Linked DNA regions of Homo sapiens: all the other regions are linked to region 2. Evidence: promoter capture Hi-C in human tissues and cell types (Jung and others, 2019). All regions are on one chromosome and are shown on one strand. Each heading gives the region's core, a stretch centred on a gene start or on the middle of the fragment in contact. The rest is flanking DNA. Distances are from core to core; before and after follow the strand shown. Region 1 has its middle 45 kb from the start of CABLES1. Region 2 holds the start of CABLES1 (Cdk5 and Abl enzyme substrate 1). Region 3 overlaps CABLES1 (Cdk5 and Abl enzyme substrate 1).

Region 1 (3,125 bases), core at 24-2,523, 45 kb before region 2:
GTGCATGCTGGTAATCCCAGCTACTTGGGAGGCTGAGACAGGAGAATTGATTGAACCTGGGAGGCAGAGGTTGCAGTGAGCCGAGATCACGGCACTGCACTCCAGCATGGAACACGAGAGCAAAACTCCATCTCAAAAAAAAAAAAAAGAGTTGGTGGGGGGCCGGGCACAGTAGCTCACGCCTGTAATCCCAGCACTCTGGGAGGCCAAGCCAGGTGGATCACGAGATCAAGAGATCAAGACCATCCTGGCCAACATGGTGAAACCCCATCTCTACTAAAAATACAAAAATTAACTGGGCGTGGTGGCGGGCGCCTGTAGTCCCAGCTACTTGGGAGGCTGAGGGAGCACAATCACTTGAACCTGGGAGACGGAGCGTGCAGTGAGCCGAGATTGCGCCGCTGCACTCCAGCCTGGCGACAGAGCGAGACTCTGTCTGAAAGAAAGAAAGAAAGAAAGGAAGAAAGAAGGAAGGAAAGAAGGAAGGAAGGAAGGAAGGAAGGAAGGAAGGAAGGAAAGAAAGAAAGAAAGAAAGAGAAAGAAAGAAAGAAAGAGAAAGAAAGAAAGGAAGAAAGAAGGAAGGAAAGAAGGAAGGAAGGAAGGAAGGAAGGAAGGAAGGAAGGAAAGAAAGAAAGAAAGAAAGAAAGAAAGAAAGAAAGAAAGAGAAAGAAAGAAAGAAAGAGAAAGAAAGAAAGGAAGAAAGAAGGAAGGAAAGAAGGAAGGAAGGAAGGAAAGAAAGAAAGAAAGAAAGAAAGAAAGAAAGAAAGAAAGAGAAAGAAAGAAAGGAAAGAAAGAAAGAGAAAGAAAGAAAGAAAGAAAGAAAGAAAGAAAGAAAGAAAGAAAGAAAGAAAGAAGAATCTCCTTTAAATTAGAAGGAAACTCTTAGTGTACTGCAGGATTCCTTTGCTAGGCTGAGCCCCAGTTGTCTGAAAGTCATTTGCCCAAAACATTTAACACTAACTCCTGAAAAATTCTGTACATGCTAAGAAGATCTGAACCACTTAGTGCAATAGGAATCTGCTAAAAAGCACCTAGGATAAGGGAAAACAACATAGAAAATCTGTATTTCTTCTTCTTCTTTTTTTTCCAAGACGGAGTCTTGCTCTGTCACCCAAGCTGGAGTGCAGTGGCATGATCTCAGCTCACTGCAACCTCCCCCTCCCGGGTTCAAGAAATTCTCCTGTCTCAGCTTCCCAAGTAGCTGGGATTATAGGCACGCACCACAACGACCGGCTAATTTTTGTATTTTTAGTAGAGACGGGTTTTCACCATGTTGGCCGGACTGGTCTTGAACTCCTGACCTCGTGATCCACCCACCTCAGCCTCCCAGTGTGTTGGGATTCCAGGCGTGAGCCACCGCGCCCGGCCGAAAAATTGTATTTCTATTCACAATGAGACAGGACTATTAAAACCACATGTTTATTTTTGGAAACTCTAATCTTCAGTAACTCTCATTTACAGTTCAACCACAATATGAAAACCCTTTATTATTTTATATCCAACTTTTATTATAAAAATAATAAATGCCCATATAAATATTTGGAAAATAAAAAGTATAATAATTCATGTTTTTAAAGCCATAACTTCAACATCTGATGATAACCTCTGTTAATACTGCAATGCCTATCTTGTGTGTGTGTATAAAACAACCTTGTAATCATATCACACATAGTTTTATATTCTGATTTTTATCATTTATCACTTTATCTTATGGATTTCTCCACACTAAAATGTTGCCCATTAAAAACTTATTATTATTATTACTATTATTATTATTTTGAGACAGAGTCTCTGTTGCCCAGGCTGGAGAGCCCTGGTGCCATCTCAGCTCACTGCAACCTCCGCCTCCCAGGTTAAAGAGTCTCCTGCCTCAGCCTCTTGAGTAGCTGGGATTACAAGCACGCACCACCACACCCAGCTAACTTTTGTATTTTTAGTAGAGACGGAGTTTCACCATGTTGGCCAGGCTGGACTCAAACTCCTGACCTCAAGCAATCCACCTGCCTCAGCCTGTCAAAGTGCTGGGATTACAGGCGTGAGCCACTGCACCCAACCTAAAAAATTCATTTTAATTGGCTCATGATACTTCATTGTTTGACAGTACTATAATTTATTAAATGATTTCCCTATTGTCAGACATTTAGGAACCACACTACAATTTATGCCTTGACAATCCAACATGAAAAGACTGTTTTTTTTTTTTTTGTCTTGAAAAAGGAAGTAACATCATCCCGAAAGAAGCTGGTATTTCCTCTTCTCAACCTCTGGTTCTCTCTCTTCACTGTCTCTGGTTTCATATTAACTTCATTTGAAGGCTTCTTCTTTTGCTATATTAAAGAATAGGAGTGAGAAAAGCAGCTACCACCTAGAGAAACTCTGACCAAAGGAGTGGCAATGGACGATTAATAAAATGATTATTTTAAAGATAAGCTTTGTTCTTGTTCTTTATAAATTGCAAGTCATGGCTGAATAATCATTTTTAAGAATATGTGTATATTTTTAGCCAGTTTTGGTGGCACGTGCCTGTAGTCCCAGCTACTCAGGAGGCCAAGGCAGGGGTATTGCTTGAGCCCAGGAGGTCAAGGCTGCAGTGAGCCATAATGGCGCCACTGCACTCCAGCCTGGGTGGCAGAGCAAGATCCTGTCTCAAAAAAAAAAAAAAATATATATATATGTGTGTGTGTGTGTGTGTGTGTGTGTGTGTGTGTGTACACATATATATTCCTTTTTAAAATATATATATATATATATATATTCTTATTTTTAAGATGCTTTAGATGAGTCAGTGTTCTCCAGATAGATGGATCCAATAGGATATATAGAGACATGAGAGGGGATTTATGAGGGGAATTGGCTCATGTGATTATGGAAGCTGAGAAGTCCCATGACAGGCCATCTGGAAGCTGGAGACCCGGGGATGATGGTAGTGTGGCTTTGCCCAAGTTCGAAGCCTCAGAACTGGGGAAGCCAATGGTATAACTCTCAGTCCGTGGCCAAAGCCCTGCGAACTCGGGGCTGGTGGAGGAGGATGCTGGTGTAAGTCCCGGAGTCCAAAGGCCAGGGAGCCTGGAGTCCTGCTGTCCAAGGGCAAGAGGAGAAGGCCGTCCCAGCTCCAGGAGAGAGCA
Region 2 (3,493 bases), core at 857-3,356:
TCCTGACCTCGTGATCTGCCTGCCTCGGCCTCCTAAAGTGCTGGGATTACAGGCTTTAGCCACCGTGCCAGGCCAAATTTTTTTAAAAAAATTAGCCAGGTGTGGTGGGTGCCGGTAGTCCCAGCTATTCGCGAGGCTGAGGCAGAGAGAATCGCTTGAGCTCAGGAGTCTGCAGTGAGCTATGATCACACCAGTGCACTCCAGCCTGGGTGACAGGCTAAAAGAATATATATACATATCTCTCTATAAAATATATGAAAATACAAAACAGAAATCAAAATTTAAGTTTTACGTTATTTCCACAGAAGATATTGTTAGTGATACCCCCTTTTTTTTTGCTCCTCTTTGCTTATCTTATGTTCTGAAATTAACATTTATCATTTTTGAATGATGGAAAATATATTTTACAGGAGCACCGTTGGAGTCTTTCACTTAACACTGCCTCCCAACCAGGCCAGTGGTCATGTAAATTAAGTCAATTGTCATAAAAGGGCTTGGAAGTTTCAAGGTAGTTAGCCAAAATAATTAAAATCCTGGTGAAATTTCACAGAGCTGGCCATTGAGCTTTGACTCCACTGACATGAGGCTGCTGTAAACAGACACCAGGCTCCATGTTTTCAAAAGGCCTAAAAACAGCACAAAATAAAATATAACAACGATTGTTCATGTAAAGGGCCACGTGCCATCTCTGTCCTGAGCAAATGTAACCTGAAACCCTCTCTGTCTGGCACTCCGGGTTGGCGGCACCTCTCTGGACGGTGTATTTGCTCTCCATTACTCAATTTACTTTCCTGAACTTGAAATGGAGTGGAATTTCAATGTAGAGTTACCCATTAGCTCCAGGGCTAAATTTAAACCTTTAATTAAATTAATCCGTTGATCTGAAACACATTGCTTCTCCCTCAAAAGTGCAGCAGGTTTCTTAGGTGTCACAGAGCTTAATTCAGTGTGGCAATTGTTCCTTACTGCATTTGTTAAGTTGCCCATACCGCCTGGGGAAACCCGCACACGTTTTCAGATCCCTCCAGGTGAACTCCTCCACCCTGTCCCCGCCCCCGCCCCCACCCCCAACCAAAACAAGCATTCGTTGTGGGTGGGGACTGCGACTCCTCCCAGATTCAGAGCTACTGCTCTGGGAGGGCCGTCAGGAACCCGTATTTATAGAAGACATGGTAGGTGCCAAACGTGCTTATGAGATAAACGACAGGGTAACTGTCCACATTGGTCCCAGTTTATGAGGGAGAAGAGATCATAATCTACAAAAATTTGCAAGGTGACCAGGGGAAAAGAGTGTAAGGTCATTTTAGCCCACCTGGGTCTTCACAGAAAATGGAGCACATTTCAGAGCCAAAGTAAAAAATTTGCGTTGTCCTTTGCTAAGAGAGAGATGAAAAGTGACAATACCATGGATTGGGGATGCGTGAGTTCGTTGGCCACATGTAAGATGTTCGTGCTTCTGGGCTCTTATGCATCCCAAGGCGTGCATTTATCCCGGGGGCTGCATCCTTGGCCTGGGAATGAATAGACCCAACTGCAATGGTTGTTAGCGATAGCTTTACGGTGGGACAGTCTCCATAGGGGCTGTGGACTTACCCGTGTTATTATGAAAAGGATCTATTTACTTCTCGGGGACCAACGGCCTTGCGGGGTCCAAGTAACTCGCTCGCAGTCCAAAACTCTGCAACGCTCCACATAACCGTCCTGTAGACCCACAACTCTCCCAGGAGCACAGCCCCAGGACCTAACCCACCGGGTTCTGCTCGCTCACCCAATTCCCAGTGCGAGCGCGCGGGGGAAACGTGCTCGCCTCCCGCACCTGGCTTCCGCGGCCCCGGGAGTCGCCAACTCTCCCAGCAGGCAGCTCCGACAACCCGGACAGCCGGGCCGATCCCCCGCCCCACCACCCGCTCGGCTCTCGCGTCCTCCTCTTCCTCCTCCCGTGGCCCCTTGCCTCCCGCCGTCTGCCTCTGCGGCCGCCGCCTGCGGCTTTGTTTTCCTCCCAGGTCGCATTCCCCACACGTGATTCCGTGTTATTGCAAAGAGGGCTTTGGAGCGCGAGCGCGGGGCGCGCGCACCTATAAATACGGACACCCGGCCCCGGAGCCCGCGAGCCAGCGGCCAGGCGACCGGCGGGCGGCCAGCCAGCGAGCCGAACTAGCCGAGCTAGGTAGCGAGGCGTGCGCGTGGGCCGGGGCGGCGGCGCCCCCATCCCCAGCACCGAGGGGCGAGCATGGCCCGCCCGCGGGGGGGCTGGACCGCCGCGCACGCCGCCCGATCCCCGCGCCCTACCCAGCCCGGGTCGCCGCCGCTCGCGCCCGCCGCTTAGCGCTCGGGCGCCGCTCGCTTCTCCGGGCATCGCGGAAATCCCGCCGCAGACGGACACAATGGCGGCGGCGGCGGCGGCCGCCACCACGGCCGCCTGCAGCAGCGGCAGCGCCGGCACCGACGCCGCGGGCGCCAGCGGATTGCAGCAGCCGCCGCCGCAGCCCCAGCCTCAGCCCGCGGCCGCCGCGCCGGCCCAGCCGCCGCCCGAACCCCCCCGGAAGCCGCGCATGGACCCGCGGCGCCGCCAGGCTGCCCTCTCCTTCCTCACCAACATCTCGCTGGACGGCCGGCTGCCGCCGCAGGACGCGGAGTGGGGCGGTGGCGAGGAGGGCGGCGCGGCCAAGCCGGGCGCCGGCGGCGCCTGCGGCGCGAGGACTCGGTTCAGCTTGCTCGCCGCTGCCGAGCGGGGCGGCTGCATCGCGCTCGCCGCGCCGGGCACGCCGGCTGCGGGGTTAGCCGCTGGGTCCGGCCCCTGCCTCCCACAGCCCTCGTCGCTGCCGCCCTTGATTCCTGGCGGCCATGCGACCGTGTCCGGCCCCGGGGTGGCGCGGGGGTTCGCGAGTCCCCTGGGCGCCGGCCGGGCGTCGGGGGAGCAGTGGCAGCCGCCCCGGCCGGCGCCTCTCGCCGCCTGTGCCCAACTGCAGCTGCTCGACGGGTCCGGGGCCGCCGGGCAGGAGGAGTTGGAGGAGGACGATGCCTTTATCAGCGTGCAGGTGCCGGCGGCCGCCTTTTTGGGCTCCGGGACCCCCGGGAGTGGGAGCGGCAGTCGGGGACGCCTCAACTCGTTCACTCAGGGAATCCTGCCCATCGCCTTCTCCAGGCCGACTTCGCAGAACTACTGCTCCCTGGAGCAGCCAGGCCAGGGCGGCAGCACCAGCGCCTTCGAGCAGCTGCAGAGGTCCCGGTGAGTATCCGGGATGCGACGCGCACCCAACCCTGCGTCCCGCCCGGCGCTCCCAGCCTCCCCGCGGTCTCTGGGCTACGGGACACGGGTTGCTCCCATTTTCCCGCGCCCTGCCGGATCCTGTGCTCCGGGCCCGAATCCCAAACCACGAGGGCACCCAAAAGAGGGGGCGTCCCCAGGGAGTGCGGGGTTACACGTGTTTGCACGAGCCCAGCATTCGCAGAGGAGCACCGCGCTTGTGCAGTGGGTCGGGAATTGGGAGTT
Region 3 (3,132 bases), core at 74-2,573, 43 kb after region 2:
ACACACACACACACACACACACACACACACACACGTTCATTGTGCTGTGATACCAGCCCCAGCCCCGCCGGTCTATGTGTGGTCAGCTTGTCCACTTGGCTGTTGGGGTCTCTGTCCGGGTCCTCCTGGAGCCAAGCCTGGCCCTCTGATTGCGAGCCTGTCTGTCTCCTGGTTCCCGCTGGGCTCTTTTCCTGGGGCCGGACTTTGCTGGGAGGAATTCTTCCTATGCCTCACCGAGTCCCAGTTCTGTCCTGTCCTGTTGGGCTCTGGGAAGGTGCATGTAGGAAGCCCCTCAGGCCCCCTGCCATGGCCTGCCTGCTCCCTCTGTTAGAGGTACTCTCTTCTCCTCTCCCAATTAAAACCTTGGCTCTCCCTGGCTCCCCCATGTACTCCACACCTGGTTTGGCCTCCAGGTGTGGACACACTCCACAGTATCCTTAAACCATGGGACCAGGTGCTGCATTCCCAGCCACCCTCCTTGCCCGGCTCAGGGAAGCCCTTTGCAGAGAACGCCTGGATTTGATTCCTTGGAGCCTGACGCCCATTCAGAACATAGGTAAGTTGGCCGCAAACTCCTTGGACTTAGATGCATAGGGCGCATTTCTGTCTAGGGTGAAGCTGGCCCTTTTATTTCTAGTGGTTTTCCCTTTCCAATATTCCCTTCCCACCCATATCCTGTCCTGGCTGGGCCCCCACTTTTCTTCCCCACCCCCTCCATGAGTATCCAATGTGTTCTGTAGCAAGATCAAAGCGGTTTATCTCATCAGCCACACAAAACCTTTTCGGATCCTGATTTTTTTTTTTCAACCAGTACCCAGTACCTGCTTCTCCTGGTTCTACCCTTCTGCGTATTCCATTGTGTGCCCCTACAGCAGCAGGGCAGGGCCCCTCCCTCTGGGACGAGGCCAAGTATGAATTAGAATGCAGCACTGCCACTGAGCCAGCGACCCTGGGCTGGCCGCCTGATGTCCTGATACCCTAAGGCTGTCCAGGGACCCTGGGCTGGCCGCCTGATGTCCTGATACCCTAAGGCTGTCCAGGGACCCTGGGCATGTACCTTCATGGCGGCCAGGTGTGCTGTGTCTGCTGCTGTGTTCTGACCTTCCCTCTAGACCCTTTGTCAAAAGAGTTTGAACTTGTTCCCAGGGGGTATCACTGGATCTTCAAGTAGGGACTGACATGAGGGAAAGAGTGTTTTTCAAGATTAGCAGGACAGCAGTGGGCAGGGTAGACTGGGAGATCTTTGGGGATGAATTTCTGGCCAGCTATTAAATCCTAGCAGCAGTTCCTGTCAGCTCTAAATAGCCCCATATACCAAGATAACCTCACACCTTGATTTTTCAGGATTTGGCAAGTCTGATGAGAGCCCTTGAAACAAAAGTAAACTCAGGCAAGCCAAGAGCCTTTTGTATTCTCTGTAAACATTTAGAGAGTCGCTTTCTTGACCCGCCTATGAAAATGTAGAAACAGACCTTATTTGAACAAGCTGATTGGCAACTCTAGTGTATTGATTTTAATTTGGTTTTTGCCTGATTCATCAGCTGGAGACTTTAAAACATAGCCAGATTCAAAACCAGTTTCTTGGCCGGGCGTGGTGGCTCACACCAGTAATCCCAACACTTTGGGAGGCCGAGGCGGGCCAATTGCCTGAAGCCAGGAGTTCGAGACCAGCCTGGCCAACACGGTGAAACCCTGTCTCTACTAAAAATACAAAAATTAGTCGGGTATTGTGGCGGGTCCCTGTAATCCCAGCTACTCAGGGGGCTGAGGCAGGAGAATCGCTTGAACCCAGGAAGCAGAGGTTGCAGTGAGCCGAGATCGCGCCACTGCACTCCACCCTGGGAGACAGAGACTCCGTCTAAAAAAATAAAGAAAAAACGGTTTCTTCCCATTGTGTCTAATTTAAAAAAATCTAACCATCCCTCCTTTTCTTAAAGATAATCCTGTCTTCCTTCCTTTACAAGAAAAATCCCAGTGACTCCCCCACCCCAGGGATTTTGAATTCCTTTGGTCTGTATTCTGGATATGGATCTGGCTTTCAGCGTGTTAGTTGAGGCTCGGGGAGGAGGTTTTCCTTCCAAGCCAGCTGTGTGCCCAGTGCTCAGAGGTATGGATGGCATCAGGCTGACTGGTCAAGACCAAATGCTCCTCCAGTCACCCCAGCCTGGTGACCTGGCCCGGCCAGTATGCCACTGTAGTGTCAGACTCTGTGGCTCTCCTCTTGGAGTTCCTCCAGGGTCTAACAAGCAGCTGCTGCCAGGTGAGCAGTAAGGGCCATGCTTACTTTCATCGGCACTTTTGCTGCTGGACAAAGCTTTAGATCCGTGGACAACAAAACAAAGCATGTGTCTAATGGATGTGTCCTCAGGCTGAAGGGAAGGCCGTTTTGCTTTAAGGGTCTGTGTATCTTCTGTTAAGAGGTAGCAGCTGACTTTTTTTTCTTCATCTGTGAACACGTGTACTAGGGTGAAACAGTTTTGTTTTGTTTTTGTTTTTATTTTTGTTTTTTGTTTTTTGAGACGGAGTCTCGCTCTGTTGCCCAGGCTGGAGTGCAGTGGCGCAATCTTGGCTCACTGCAAGCTCCGCCTCCCGGGTTCAGGCCATTCTCCTGCCTCAGCCTTCTGAGTAGCTGGGACTACAGGCGCCCGCCACCACGCCCGGCTAATTTTTTTTTTAATTTTTAGTAGAGACTGGGTTTCGCCGTGTTAGCCAGGATGGTCTCGATCTCCTGACCTCGTGATCCACCCGCCTCAGCCTCCCAAAGTGCTAGGATTACAGGCATGAGCCACCGCGCCTGGCCAACAGTTTGTTTTTTTTAAGTGAGCGCAGTCTGATTGGACTTCTGCTGGAGGAGCATCTGGAATCTTGGCATTGAAGTTTGCCAACTCACGAACAATGTTATCATCACTTATCTGATGAATGTGAGGAGCAGGCTGATGGTGCTGTGGCAGTCAACAGCTTAAGATGCTGCTAGGGAAATGAAGGAAATAACAATAGGGTGATGGAGGGGCATTTTCCTTTAAGAGAGCCTAGTATTTGAAAACCAGCATTTCACAAATGACATACACATGATAGTACAATTCTTGGGCTTATGTGTTTACTTATTTATTTGTAGAGACAGGGTCTCACTCT

Evidence for each region. The method cuts DNA at HindIII sites, captures the fragments that hold promoters and counts their contacts. A contact is called where the count stands out against the background at its distance.
Region 1: a contact is called between a fragment that was not itself captured here and the fragment with the promoter of CABLES1 in region 2, in 5 of the 25 tissues and cell types used here (lymphoblastoid cells, mesenchymal stem cells, neural progenitor cells and 2 more).
Region 3: a fragment that was not itself captured here is called in contact with the fragment with the promoter of CABLES1 in region 2 in 2 of the 25 tissues and cell types used here (aorta and lymphoblastoid cells).

Annotation. Positions count from the first base shown.
Region 1 is chr18:23,089,290-23,092,414 of GRCh38, forward strand. No RefSeq gene overlaps it. Among named protein-coding and RNA genes, the nearest start is that of CABLES1, 45 kb to the right of the region's middle. The HindIII fragment of the contact is 7,157 bases long and covers 1-3,125 here.
Region 2 is chr18:23,133,379-23,136,871 of GRCh38, forward strand. It overlaps CABLES1 (Cdk5 and Abl enzyme substrate 1), which reads left to right and starts at 2,107. Exons shown (of 10, transcript NM_001100619.3): 1 at 2,107-3,229. The coding sequence starts at 2,385. RefSeq lists silencers at 906-995, 1,006-1,115, 1,876-1,955, 2,076-2,285, 2,416-2,625 and 2 more and an enhancer at 1,306-1,455. The HindIII fragment of the contact is 17,284 bases long and covers 1-3,493 here.
Region 3 is chr18:23,177,421-23,180,552 of GRCh38, forward strand. All of the region lies in intron 1 of CABLES1 (Cdk5 and Abl enzyme substrate 1), which reads left to right. Among named protein-coding and RNA genes, the nearest start is that of CABLES1, 44 kb to the left of the region's middle. The HindIII fragment of the contact is 3,734 bases long and covers 1-3,132 here.